Regions from separate parts of the Homo sapiens genome. Here region 1 is linked to region 2. The links are contacts of gene promoters, found by promoter capture Hi-C in human tissues and cell types (Jung and others, 2019). All regions are on one chromosome and are shown on one strand. Each heading gives the region's core, a stretch centred on a gene start or on the middle of the fragment in contact. The rest is flanking DNA. Distances are from core to core; before and after follow the strand shown.

Evidence for each region. The method cuts DNA at HindIII sites, captures the fragments that hold promoters and counts their contacts. A contact is called where the count stands out against the background at its distance.
Region 1: a contact is called between a fragment that was not itself captured here and the fragment with the promoter of MMP1 in region 2, in 1 of the 25 tissues and cell types used here (mesenchymal stem cells).

What each region holds. Positions count from the first base shown.
Region 1 is chr11:102,747,456-102,754,444 of GRCh38, reverse strand. No RefSeq gene overlaps it. Among named protein-coding and RNA genes, the nearest start is that of MMP8, 26 kb to the right of the region's middle. RefSeq lists enhancers at 773-1,972, 6,677-6,989. The HindIII fragment of the contact is 8,712 bases long and covers 1-6,680 here.
Region 2 is chr11:102,795,666-102,802,693 of GRCh38, reverse strand. It overlaps MMP1 (matrix metallopeptidase 1), which reads left to right and starts at 4,534. Exons shown (of 10, transcript NM_002421.4): 1 at 4,534-4,706; 2 at 5,194-5,438; 3 at 5,532-5,680; 4 at 5,905-6,030. The coding sequence starts at 4,602. It also overlaps the pseudogene WTAPP1. The HindIII fragment of the contact is 22,607 bases long and covers 1-7,028 here.

The DNA.
Region 1 (6,989 bases), core at 1,075-3,574, 46 kb after region 2:
GTGATTCTGACCTCAAGAGTAAAGCTAGACTTAACAATGGCATGGGTTCTTCTACCACAGTAACATTTCTGCACCACTGCTAAACATAATAAGGGCTACGAGATCACTACAGAAGCAGACAGATTTTTTCCCTCTTCTCATTCAATTATTAAGGAAAAGGGCTATATTGTTACAATAGTGAAATGCTGCAATTTTTCAGAAAACTGAGAAAGACTTTACTTCTACTATTTTAGTATTCTTTTCTTTATAAGAAATACCTAGAAAACTGCTACTACAACTTGAAGAGTGAAATCAATCAAATTGGAAGGCAGAGAGACAGTAGCCCAGTGCTTGAGAAGCTGAAGCAAATGCAGAATTTCTTTGGGCTGAAGGTAACTGGGAAGCCAGATCGAATTTGATGAAGCAGCCCAGATGTGGGGTGCCTGATGTGGCTTCCCTCATCCTCACTCAAGAGAGCCCTTGTTGGGAGCAAACAAATCTGACCCACAGGTAATAAGACTGCGCACCAGAGTGAGAGACAGCTGTTTCCCACCACAGTGGGAAGAAATGAGGTTCTCTGTGTCTCTGTTCTCTCCTTTATCATTTTAAGGATCAAAACTACATGCCAAATCTGCCTCAAGAGGATGTGGACCGTGCCACTGGGAAAGCCTTTGAACTCTGGAGTAAGGCCTCGGCCCTGACCTTCACCAGGGACTTTGAGAGTGAAGGGGACATAATATTATCCTTTGTGTGAGGAGGTAAGCTCTTCTCTCCCAAAACCATTCTGAACGTTCCCTCCTGCTACCCTGGGATCTGCTCCATCAGAATTGCTGATGGAGGAAAGCCTCACAGATGAAGTGTGTCTTTTGGCTCCTTGCTATAGCTCTTTTGTCTCACCTGGGTAAGGCTGAATAAAACAAGGGTATATCTTTGTTGAATTCTTTTTCTTGCAGATCTCCATGACAATTCTCCCTTTTATGGACATGATGGTTGTCTTGCTCATGCATTCCCACCTGGACCAGGTATCGGAGGAGATGTTCATTTTGATAATGATGAAACAAGGACCAAGGATTTCAGAAGTGAGTCAGCTAATTCCTTCACTGCCTCTTTTATTTTTCCTTCCCATAGCTTATAGAATTTTTTTTGTTTTATCTGAAAGAATGCTTTCAGTAAAATGAACCAATTTTGACTTTATTAGTATAAATACTTTAATAAATATAAACTGTTGACACTATAAATTACTTTAAAAAGGTAACTATTTTGTCTCATTTCATAAAAATGTAAGAGAATAATATTTCTTCAAGCTGTGTAATTTTACTGACAAAAATACATTACTCTAAAATTTTTACTAGAATGTTTAATATCATATCATTATGTACATTTGTCAACTATTCAGTGCTTTGAAAATATTCAGGTTTTTGGATTTTGCATGCATAAAATGTAAGGACACTAGACCCTATCACAGTGCAAAATAAGTAACTTAAAGGAGTTTATTTGAGAGGCTGAGGTGGGTGGATCACTTTTAGGCCAGGAGTTCAAGCCCAGCCTGGCCAACATGGTGAAACCCTGTCTCTACTAAAAATACAAAATTAGCTGGGCATGGTGGCGTGTGACTGTGGTCCCAGCTACTCAACTTGGGAGGCTGAGGCACGAAAATCACTTGAACCAGGAGGCAGACGTTGCAGTGAGCCAAGATCGCACCACTGCACTCCAGCCTAGGGGACAGAGTGAGACTCTGTCTCAAGAAAATTTAAAAAAAAATTAAAAACTGGTTTAAATAAGCAAAGAATCTTGAAGCATACTAGCATAAGGTGTATATCTTGCCAATAAGGAGGATTTTTAAAAATATGAAGTTTCAAACTGCCTTTCTATGAGGTGGTAACTTCTATTTGTGCAGAGATACTCTGGCTTCATGATGTAAGATGAACTGACATTCTGGAGTAACCAAATGAACAAATACAGAATCCTTTGTCTGGAGTCAGCCTGGTCGAAAGCTCAGATATGTCTTCTGCAGAAGGTGTCCATCTGCCTCCCACCCTTGTAGTCCTGCAGGGTGCCCACCACACACACACACACCTGTGTAGCTTGAGAAGTAACCCAATTATACTAAGAAGAAAGGTCTTCTCGAGTGCACCTTACATTGGAATAAAACTCTCCATCCACTTCTCGTGAAGCAAATGTCTGGAGGAAATTCTGTCTAATATCTACTAGACTCCAGGCAAATCTTTTCATGGCCGATTTTTTGTTGACAGGCAGTAAGCACTGGGTCGTTCAGGAGGATCAACTGCTGAGTGGCTACCCCAGGGACGTCTACAGCTCCTTTGTCTTCCCTGAAAGGGTGAAGAAAATTGATGCTGCCATTTATGAGAAGGACACTGGAAAGACACATTTCTTTGTTGCCAATGAGTATTGGAGGTAAAGACCTACCCTCAGAAAACTTGGGAAATCAGATCACTCTGGTGGAAGGAGAGTTGCCTTTTAAAATTTTTCTCAAATTTCACTGAAACTTTCCTTTTTTCTGAGAATGAATGCAGCCAGGCCCACAGCCATTCAGTCCCCTACCTGTTATCACACTGCTGCCTAGCAAGGCAAGGAACTTGTTGGCTTGCATTTGAAAAGGAGATAAAGAGCAGAACACACAAAGGGGACTAGAGGCATCCAAAAAGGAGAAAATGAAGCATTTCTCCTTGATAGGACAGAACATGGAGCCCAAGGGAAAATTTGAATCAGATTTTTATGGTTGAGAATAACTTAGAGTTTGTCTAGTTTGCCCCACTCTCCCTCCCAGTTAAAATTTCTTAATAGTTTCATGCCAACAATGTACCCACCCATAATTTTTAAAAGCAGCCATCGGGGTTTTGCAAAATTGAGGCACAGACAGTACCTACCTCTCAGATTTGTTGTGAGAATTAAATGAATCTTCATATGAAAAGCACTTAGGACAGTGATTAGTACATGGAAAGTTCTACATGAAAGTTAAGTGTTTTTTATTGTTTTTATATTAACCACAATGTGATATTTTTAGTTATTTTTTGTTACCAGGTATGATGAAAATATGCAGTCCGTGGATGCAGGTTATCCCAAAATCATTGATGACCTCCCCGGAATTAGTAAAAAAAATTGACCTGTTTTGAAAAATAAAGGTAAAGACCATTCAATTTCCTCATTTCACTATCATAAAATTACACATTTAGTGTTACATAGATAAGACAGTAAACTGTGTACACAAAAATATGATATTTTCAAGAGTTCATGTGAAAAATCATTATCTAGTTTCTTTTATTTCTAGGTTTTTTCTATTTCTTTTGTAGAAGAAGGCAGTATGAATGTAATCCTAAAATGAAGCAAATTTTGACTCTCCTGAAAGCTAACATCTGGTTCAAGTGCAGAAATAACTGATGGTTGACTATCACCAAACAGAAAATAAAAAGTATTTTTAATGAGCCCAAAATATGTTCTTTTCTAAGAAACCAGGTATTTCAGTATTTTATTTCAGTCTCTTGGTAACACAAGGCAGAGACATAGAAATACAATCTTATTTAACTTCAATCTGAACATATTCTATGTTAGCTAGAATATATTGCTTCATGAACTTATATAAGTTAGTTTTAAGCAAGTACTAAGGGTTGTCAATCAAGGTCATCCTTAGGTTTTCACAGAAAAAAGCTTTTTACTAGAGTCCAAGACTCTGACTTTAACCTGAGCAGCTGCACATATGGGATGCATATCTCAATCCACCCAAGACAATAACAGCCCTCAGTTTCAACAAAGAAAAAACAGCGTAAAACTGTATCATCCTTACATGTACATGGCAACACTGTCACATATTAAAGAAAACAGACACTTAAACTTCGTATAAAAAATAAAGTGGCTGGGCACAGTGCCTCACGCCTGTAATCCCAGCACTTTGGGAAGCTGAGGCAGATAGATCACTTGAGGTCAGGAGTTCAAGACCAGCCTGGCCAAAATGATGAAACCCCATCTCTACTAACAAAAAATACACAAATTAGCCGGGTGTGGTGGCAGGCACCTGTAATCCCAGCTACTTGGGAGGCTGAGTCACAAGAATCACTTGAACCCAGGAGGTGAAGGTTGTAGTGAACCAAGATCGCGCCACTGCACTCCAGCCTGGGCAGTAGAGTGAGATTTAGTATATATATTTTAAAAAGGTAACTTTTATCAACATATAATATGAATACAGAAAAGCCATGTATCATAAGTATATAGCTGATGACTCTTCACAACACAACCAAGTAACCAGCACACAAAAGAAAATTGCCAGTATCCCCAAATCCCTTCTCCAGGTACTAAGCTTTCTAAGGGTAACTACTATCCTAACTTCTAATCTAATACCATAGATTAGCTTTATCTCTTTCAGTACTTAAAATAAATGGAATTATACATTATATACCTTAGTATCTGACTTCTGTCACTCAACATTATATTTATGAGATTCATCAATATATTTTTATGTAATTTTTGATCATTTATTCTCTTTGCTGTAGAGTTTCCATTGAGTGAATAATTTCCCACAATTTATCTCTCCAGTCTATGTTGAAGGACATATAAGTAGTTTCCAATTTGGGGCTATTACAAATAGTCTTCAGGGGAAGCAGAGCAAGATAGTTGAATAGAAGCTTCCAATAGTTGTCCTCACACCCCCGCAAGAACACAAAATTGAACAACTATTCACACAAAAAAGCAACTCCATAAGAACCCAAAATCGGGTGAGCAATCACACTACCTGGTTTTAACATCATATTAAGGAAAGAGGCACTGAAAAGGGTAGGAAAGACAGTCTTGAATGACCTACACCAGCCCTCTCCTATCCCCCTGCAGTGATCATATGGCATGAAGAGAGAATCTGCACTAGGGGAAGAGGGAGTGTACAGTGATTGTGAGACTTTGCATTGGAACTTAGTGTTGCCCTGTCATTAGTGTTGCAACACCAGGCAGAATTCAGTCAGCTCTTATGGAGGAAGAGAGAGAGAGAGAGAGAGAGAGACTCAATTTGGTGGGTAGGGGGGTGGGGGGGAAGTCAGGAAAGAGAAGAAGAGTCTCTGCCTGGTCATCCAGGGAATTCCTCTAGATCTTACCTAAGACTACCAAGCTGGTACATCTGTGGGTCTACAAGAGCCACAGGTTTACTGGGCTTGGGGTGCCCCCTAAAGCACATATGGCTGCTGTGACCAAAGACTTAGATCATAACAACCAAGTTGCTTGGAATACCTGGAAAGCCTTCCCAAAAAGGACAGGTACAAACAAGTCCAGACTAAAAAGACTATGATAAATACCTAACTCTTCAATGCCCAGACACTGATGAACATCTGTAAGCATCAGGATCACCCAGAAAAACACTACTTCACCAAACAAACTAAATAAGGCACCACAGACCAATCCTGGAGAGACAGAGATATGTGACCTTTCAGACAAAGAATTTAAAATTGCTCTTTTGAGGAAGCTCATCAAAATCCAGGATAACATGGAGAAGGAATTCAGAATCCTATCAAATAAATTTAACAAAGACATTGAAATAATTACGTGGAATCAAGCAAACATTCTGAAACTAAAAAATGCAATTGACATGCTGAAGAATGCATCAGAGTCTCTTAACAGCACAATTGATCAAGCTGAAGAAATAGTGAGTTTGAAGACAAGCTATTTGAAAATACACAGTCAGAGGAGACAAAAGAGAAAAGCATACGTACAAGATCTAGAAAATAACCTCAAAAGGGTAAATGAAAGAGTTATTGACTGTAAAGAGAAGGTAGAGAGAGAGAGATTAGAGTAGAAAGTTTATTCAAATGGATAATAACAGAGAATTTCCCAAACCTAGAGAAAGATATCAAGTACAAGAAGGTTATAAAACACCAAGCAGATTTAACCCAAATAAGACTACCTCAAGGCATTTAGTAATCAGTATCTGAAAGGACAAGGATAAAGACAGGATCCTAAAAGCAACAAGAAAAAAGAAACAACATGCAAAGGAGCTCCAATATGTCTGGCAGCACACTTCTCAGTGGAAATCTTAAAGACCAGGAGAGAGTAGCGTGACATATTTAAAGTGCTGAAGGAAAAAAAATTATCCTAGAATAGTATATCTAGGGAAAATACCCTTCAAACATGGAGAAATAAAGACTTTCCCAGACAAACAAAAGCTGTGGGATTACATAAGCACCAAACCTGTCCTATAATAAATGCTAAATGGATTTCTTCAATCTTAAAAAGAAGGATGTTAATGAGCAATAAGAAATAATCCAAAGGTACACAATTCAGGGGTAATAGTAAGTAAACAAAAAAAACACAGAATATTATAATACTATAACTGTAGTATGTAAACTTTCTATGCAAGGCATAGAAAGACTAAAAGATGAACCTTTGAAAAATAATAACTACAACAACTTTTCAAGACATAGTATAATAAGATATAAATATAAACAACAAAAAGTTAAAAAGTGGAGAGATGAGGTTAAAATGTACAGTTTTTATTAGTTATATTTTTGCTGGTTTATACAATTAGTGTTAAGTTGTCATCAGTTTAAAATACTGAACTATAAGATATTATTTGCAAGCCTCATGATAACCTCAAATCAAAAACCATACAACAGATATACAAAAAAATCAAAAGCAAGAATTTAAAACATACAACTTGAGAAAATTATCTTTACGAAAAGGAAGACAGGAAAGAACAAAAGAAGGAAGAGAAGACCAGAAAACAAATGACAAAATGGCAAGAGTAAGTCCTTACTTATCAATAATAACACTAAATATAAATGAACCAAAGTTTCCAGTCCAAAGATTCAGAATGGATTAAACAATAAGACCCAATGATCTATTGCTTACAAGAAACACACTTCACCTCTAAAGACACACATAGAATGAAAATAAAGAGATGGAAAATGATACTCTATACAAATGAAAGCCAAAAGAGAATAAGAGTAGCTATGCTTACATCAGACAAAATAAATATCAAGACGAAAAGTATAAAAACAGACAAAGTTGAGGGAGGA
Region 2 (7,028 bases), core at 3,285-5,784:
TTCACTTTGTGAAAAACAGAAAAATTCTGAAACAATGGAATATAGTTTGAATTCTGAATCATGGACTAAAAGCTCTGCAGGCCACACACGTGTGTATGTCACAGACTCCAAACAAGCAAGTCATAGTCTGGGCACATGATCAAAATCTCACAGGAAGCTTCCTCACATATTTCAAATCCATCTCAAATTCACATTCACAGATGTAAGAGCTGGGAAAGGACGGTTTTGACAGGGCTGAACTGAGCTATGGTATGAGTAGCACTCATCCCCAGAAAGTCTCTTGGTTTGAATTTCCTTTAAAAGGAGCTATAGCTGCAAAAATCTGTTTCACAAATGTGCTAACTATAAGCATTTTCCACAGTGTTTAATAAACCATGCAGATAAGAAAATATTATTGACAAACAAATTAATAAAATGCTCAAAATAATCTGATACTAAATGCTTGTAGCATGGCATGCAAATCACCAAAAATAAATGTGCTATGCTTCATATAAAATCTCCAGTAAGGCTGAGTGTGGTGGCTCACACCTATAATCCCAACACTCTGGGAGGCCGAGGTGAGAGAACTGCTTGAGGCCAGGAGTTTGAGACTAGCCTGGCCAACATAGTGAGACCTCATCTCTACAAAAAATCTTAAAAATCAGTGGGACATGGTGGTGCACATCTGTAGTTCTAGCTACTTGGGAGTCTGAGGCAGGAAGATTGCTTAAGCCCAAGAGTTTGAGGTCCCTACACTCCAGCCTAAGCGACAGAGGGAGACCTTGTCTCTAAATAAATAAATTAGTTAATTGAATGTCCAGTCAGTTGATATATCCAAATTCTTCCCATGGTAATTTTAAAAACTTTAGTCTTAGGAGAGTAAAAGTCATGGGCATAAGACTTCTTATAAACAACTCAGCCTAATGAGAAATAGACCCTTTATTTAAGTGTCATTTAAGTATCTATTTCTTCATTGATCTATTCATTTATTAACTCATGTAACAATCATTTGCAGACACCTACTATGTTGAGGTAGTATAAACTATAAATTCAACAAGTTTGATAAGGGAAATAAGAGAGATTGAGTGACAGCTTGAAGGGGAGGATTCTTTCAGGCCTGTGGGACCGGGTGGTGGCATGGAGACATTATTGTGGACTTGAGGGAGTTAATGTGACAGTCCTCGTGTCTCCAGACACTTTCTCTCTGTTAGGGAAGCAAGATTTCTATCCCCAGAGTATGTATGTGTTATGTCTGGACTGCAGTGGCACAGAACTGTGTTCAACGAGTGACTACCGCTCTGCTGTGTGCCCTGGGACTTGGGGTTAATTGATCAATCATTTCTACCCAGAAGGTAACCATGAGGACTGACGGAACCAGTGTGTACCAAGTGTCTGTTAAGTGTCTGGTCAATGGTTATCCATAAAGCTACTGCATGGCCATATGTAGGAAGAATACAGACCGTGGGGCAAATTTTTCCCACGTGTAACTCTCACAACAAAATAGCATTAAATACTTAATGTTTCTGGCTAAAGACCATTTCAAGACTTGCAGGACAAAAAAATAGAAAAAATATCTGACACTCAAATGGAGTTACAAAATTAAAACGGCTGAATTCCCCAGCATAAAAAAATATGAAGCAAGATTGAAATTTCAAGACTAAGTTTAATATGGAAAAATACAAATATGTTTGAGGCCTTTCACAGAGCAGCCAGCATGAAGCAACCAAGAAAACCACGGAAATAATCTGGCTGCCTGGAAATAGTCCGGAGTCAGCTGACACAGCCACACGAGAGCCCTCTTATGCTTGTCATAAGGGGTAAAGGAATAATTTCAGAAAATTACATTTAAAAGAGAATTATGGGGGAAGAAGATGCTCCCAGAGGAAACAAATAGTATGGATGTGAAGAGCAAATACAACTTTAACATGTTCTGAACTTCTTGGAAACTATGCTAAGTTTAGGCATTGCTAGGATTTGGTATGATTTAATCCCCAGCTTTCTGTTCTAAATTTTTGTTTTCTTTTTTACTCTCAAATAAATCATATGCTAGCACCAGCTGCAAAGTTACATATGTTGTATTAGACGATCTTCCATGAATACCTAACTGGAAATTCCAAGATTCAGGGCCATGTGAATCTAGGCTGGCTGCTTAACCAAAACTTAATTTAATTTTTTTCGTTTATTTTAGGAAAAAAAATTAACGAAAAGATGTTTCAAGCAACCAGTTTCCAATCCACGTCAGCAACTATGACATTTAATGAAACACTATGAGCATTTAGCATGAGAGCTCTGGACTCAGATGCAGGGAGCTTTGCTAGAGAAGGGAGGAAAAAGCAGGCATGATGTGGCGGGTTGTGGGGGACTCCAAGGCTCTATTTCCAACTTCCATCAGAGAACTTCTGTTTTCACCTGGTTTTCAAATTTGCTTTCCAAAAGGGATTTTGTTTAAGTAAAGGATACAGAGGTTTATAAAAGTTTGAAAACTTCTACATTGCAGGATGTGCAGGCTCTTGCCAGATGGGACAGTGTATGAGACTCTTCCAGGGTGACGTCTTAGGCAATTTCCTGTCCAATCACAGATGGTCACATGCTGCTTTCCTGAGTTAACCTATTAACTCACCCTTGTTTCCCAGGCCTCAGTGGAGCTAGGCTTGTCACGTCTTCACAGTGACTAGATTCCCTCACAGTCGAGTATATCTGCCACTCCTTGACTTTTAAAACATAGTCTATGTTCACCCTCTAATATGAAGAGCCCCTTTCACTATTTTCTTTGTCTGTGCTGGAGTCACTTCAGTGGCAAGTGTTCTTTGGTCTCTGCCGCACCCTCCCTCTGATGCCTCTGAGAAGAGGATTTCCTTTTCGTGAGAATGTCTTCCCATTCTTCTTACCCTCTTGAACTCACATGTTATGCCACTTAGATGAGGAAATTGTAGTTAAATAATTAGAAAGGATATGACTTATCTCAAATCAATCCAAGATATACTGAAGTATTGTTTATGAGTAAGATATCAGTCTTGACGCAGAAAGAAAACAGGAATCCATAAGGGGAGGAAAGTGTTGAAAAGCAAACCTGATACAGTGGGAAAGGTGGGAGACACCATAAGGTGCTGAAGTGATAAAACAGGCCAGTGTTTCTCCACTGTATGTTTTCAATAAATGCTTCCAAGGAAGGAGAGTGGGGCATGAGTAGGGGAGCTACAGAGATAAACCAACTTTTCTTACCAGGAATGCTACAGATAGCACTGGTGACACCGGTCACCAGTACCCAAGACAATTTAATGTGGAACATAAGTACAGGAATACACATCTTTCATTACAGAGCCATGTATTTATTTTAATGGGCAGGAGATGCTAAATAAGATCTTTTGAATGGAGGAATGCATAAATATATGAATGAATGCATACATGAAAGAATAAATAAATGCTGCCTAGCACCAAGGAGCGAAGATAGACTCATATCAAGGGAAACAAGTATGATTAAAAATAAGACCCCAGAGTCACGCTCAGTCTCTTTCCAGCCTTTTCATCATCCGGTACATTCAGACAAGTTTCAGGGAAGGATCCTATTTGTCCCATGATAATGATGGGCAAGGGGTGGGGAGTTATCTCATACTCCGCCTGTGGATGAGGGGTCTTCTCAGGTAAGGCTCTTAAATCCTAGGCCTGAGTAAATTTTTTCAAATTTTATTTTAGACAGGGTCCCTCTCTGTTGCCTAGGCTGGAGTGCAGCGGCACAATCACAGCTCAATGCAGCCTCAACCTCCCAGGCCCAAGTGATCCTCCCACCTCAGCCTCTTCAGTGACTAGGACTACAGGTGCATGACTCCATGCTTGGCTAACTTTAAAAAATGTTTGTTTGTTTGTTTGTTTTTTACAGAGATGGGGTCTCACCATGTTGCCCAGGCTGATCTTGAACTCCTGGGCTCAAGTGATTCCCCTGCCTCGGCCTCCTGAAATTCTGGGATTATAGGCTTGAGCCACCATGCCTGGCTCTGAGTAAAGATTAAGGGAAGCCATGGTGCTATCGCAATAGGGTACCAGGCAGCTTAACAAAGGCAGAAGGGAACCTCAGAGAACCCCGAAGAGCCACCGTAAAGTGAGTGCTGGGGGAGCTGAACTTCAGTCAGTACAGGTGCCGAACAGCCATCAGGTGCGCAGTGTTAGTAATTCCACCCTCTGCCCTGGGAGCAAGGTGTGTGGAGAAACCTGTAGCACTTTATGACCATCAGAACCAGTCTTTTTCAAAAAGACCATGGAGTACTCTTTGACCTGTGTATATAACAAGAACCTTTCTCAAATAGGAAAGAAATGAATTGGAGAAAACCACTGTTTACATGGCAGAGTGTGTCTCCTTCGCACACATCTTGTTTGAAGTTAATCATGACATTGCAACACCAAGTGATTCCAAATAATCTGCTAGGAGTCACCATTTCTAATGATTGCCTAGTCTATTCATAGCTAATCAAGAGGATGTTATAAAGCATGAGTCAGACAGCCTCTGGCTTTCTGGAAGGGCAAGGACTCTATATATACAGAGGGAGCTTCCTAGCTGGGATATTGGAGCAGCAAGAGGCTGGGAAGCCATCACTTACCTTGCACTGAGAAAGAAGACAAAGGCCAGTATGCACAGCTTTCCTCCACTGCTGCTGCTGCTGTTCTGGGGTGTGGTGTCTCACAGCTTCCCAGCGACTCTAGAAACACAAGAGCAAGATGTGGACTTAGTCCAGGTAAATGCTGCATTGCATGTGACAATAATGTAAATTTTTAGTTTGTATTTTTCTGCAGTAATGTAATAGAGTTTTTTAAGGATAGGTTTCTTATAAAGAGATTTTTTTTTTTTTTGCTAGAAACAGCACCCTCCACCCAAAATGTATCTAGCCATGCATACGCTCTCTTTTTCCAGTTGGAGGTGAGAGTGAACTAAAGGAACAACATCCAAACTTGTCTCCACAAATTGTAGACTTGTAACAGTATGCAAATCTTGCTCTACAAAAATTGCTCTACTATGAAGTTCTTACTTCACAATAACTAATAGTAGGGACATTTCTACTCTGAAATTTCATTTCTCACCAAAAATAAGGATAAAAGCAACTGCGAAATCTAAACACAAGGTTTAAAAGCAGTTCTCTGTTTTGGCTAAAACTTAATGCCATCAATTTTTAGAATAATGAGAAAGATTTCCCATGCAGTGTTTCGATAATTTTCTTTTGTCAGAAATACCTGGAAAAATACTACAACCTGAAGAATGATGGGAGGCAAGTTGAAAAGCGGAGAAATAGTGGCCCAGTGGTTGAAAAATTGAAGCAAATGCAGGAATTCTTTGGGCTGAAAGTGACTGGGAAACCAGATGCTGAAACCCTGAAGGTGATGAAGCAGCCCAGATGTGGAGTGCCTGATGTGGCTCAGTTTGTCCTCACTGAGGGGAACCCTCGCTGGGAGCAAACACATCTGACCTACAGGTAGGCAGACTGAGGGCCAGAGTGAGAGAGCTATTTCCCATGACAGTGGTAAGAAGTCATGTCCAATGTGTCTCTATTTTGTTTCATTCTAAGGATTGAAAATTACACGCCAGATTTGCCAAGAGCAGATGTGGACCATGCCATTGAGAAAGCCTTCCAACTCTGGAGTAATGTCACACCTCTGACATTCACCAAGGTCTCTGAGGGTCAAGCAGACATCATGATATCTTTTGTCAGGGGAGGTAAGTTCTTCTTATAGCACCTTAACCTCACCTTGCCCCTAGATCTCGTAGCTTTGCAACTGGAATTGATTGTTTAAGATGAATGTTGATTTTATGGGCTCGAAGAGGGAAACTGCATCACAGTTGATGGAAGTCTGTTGGCCTCTTAACAAAGCTAATGCTTGCCCTTCTGGCTTAGCTTACATAAGAACCACAAGGAATCTTTGTTGAATTGTTTCTTTCAGATCATCGGGACAACTCTCCTTTTGATGGACCTGGAGGAAATCTTGCTCATGCTTTTCAACCAGGCCCAGGTATTGGAGGGGATGCTCATTTTGATGAAGATGAAAGGTGGACCAACAATTTCAGAGGTAAGCCAATCAAATTTGCCTCTCTCAATTCTCCCACCCCTTCATGTTTCATTGTAATATTGGTTGATTTAGTTGAAAGAATGCATTCATAGAAGTATATATTTTTCTATTACCACTCAGAAAATTAGTGATACACTTAGAAAAGTGAAAGAGCGGTCTTTTCTGCTAGCTAACAACATCTTAGCAGTGACAACTAGGCCACTCTAAAATTTTTATTAAGAAAATTGTTGAAAACTTTGATGTTTTAATTGTGGGCATCAACATTGAAACTTTTTCATTAGAAGAAAACAGTGAAATTTAACAGCGGTCATAAACTTATGTGGAAATTAAAGAAAAGGAAGGCTTTTTGTGTTTTCCAAAATTTCCAGCAGTCAACATTTATCAGTTTTGTAAATAAGAAAAATATTAAATATTAGGCTGGGCGCAGTGGCTCATGCCTGTAATCCCAGCACTTTGGGAGGCCAAGGCAGGCAGATCACAACGTCAGGAGTTTGACACCAGCCTGACCAATATGGTGAAACCCTGTCTCTTCTAAAAATATAAAAATTAGACAGGCATGGTGGCACACGTCTGTAATCTCAGCTACTCAGGAGGCTGAGGCAGGAGAACCGCCTGAACCCAGGAGGCAGAGGTTGCAGTGAGCCAAGATCATGCCACTGCCCTCCAGCCTGGGTGACAGAGCAAGACTCCGTCTCAAGAAAGAAAAAAAGAAAAAGAAAAATATTAAATGTTAATAGAACATTTTGCTTCTGTGTGAAATAGTACGTGTCATTTAATCATTGATAATATTGATTAATCTGTGGTGCGCTTTCAGTCAGCTGAGTTTGTCTTTTAATTGTATCAATGTAATCATAGAGTTTAGGTTTCAACATGTCTCTTCGTTATTAATAAATGCATGCCTTCTGCCTTCGGAAAAAAGATATACATGCATATATTTCAAAAGTCACTGATAAAATAGTAACATGAGTCCTTGTAGTTGTAAATTATTTATTAGTTAA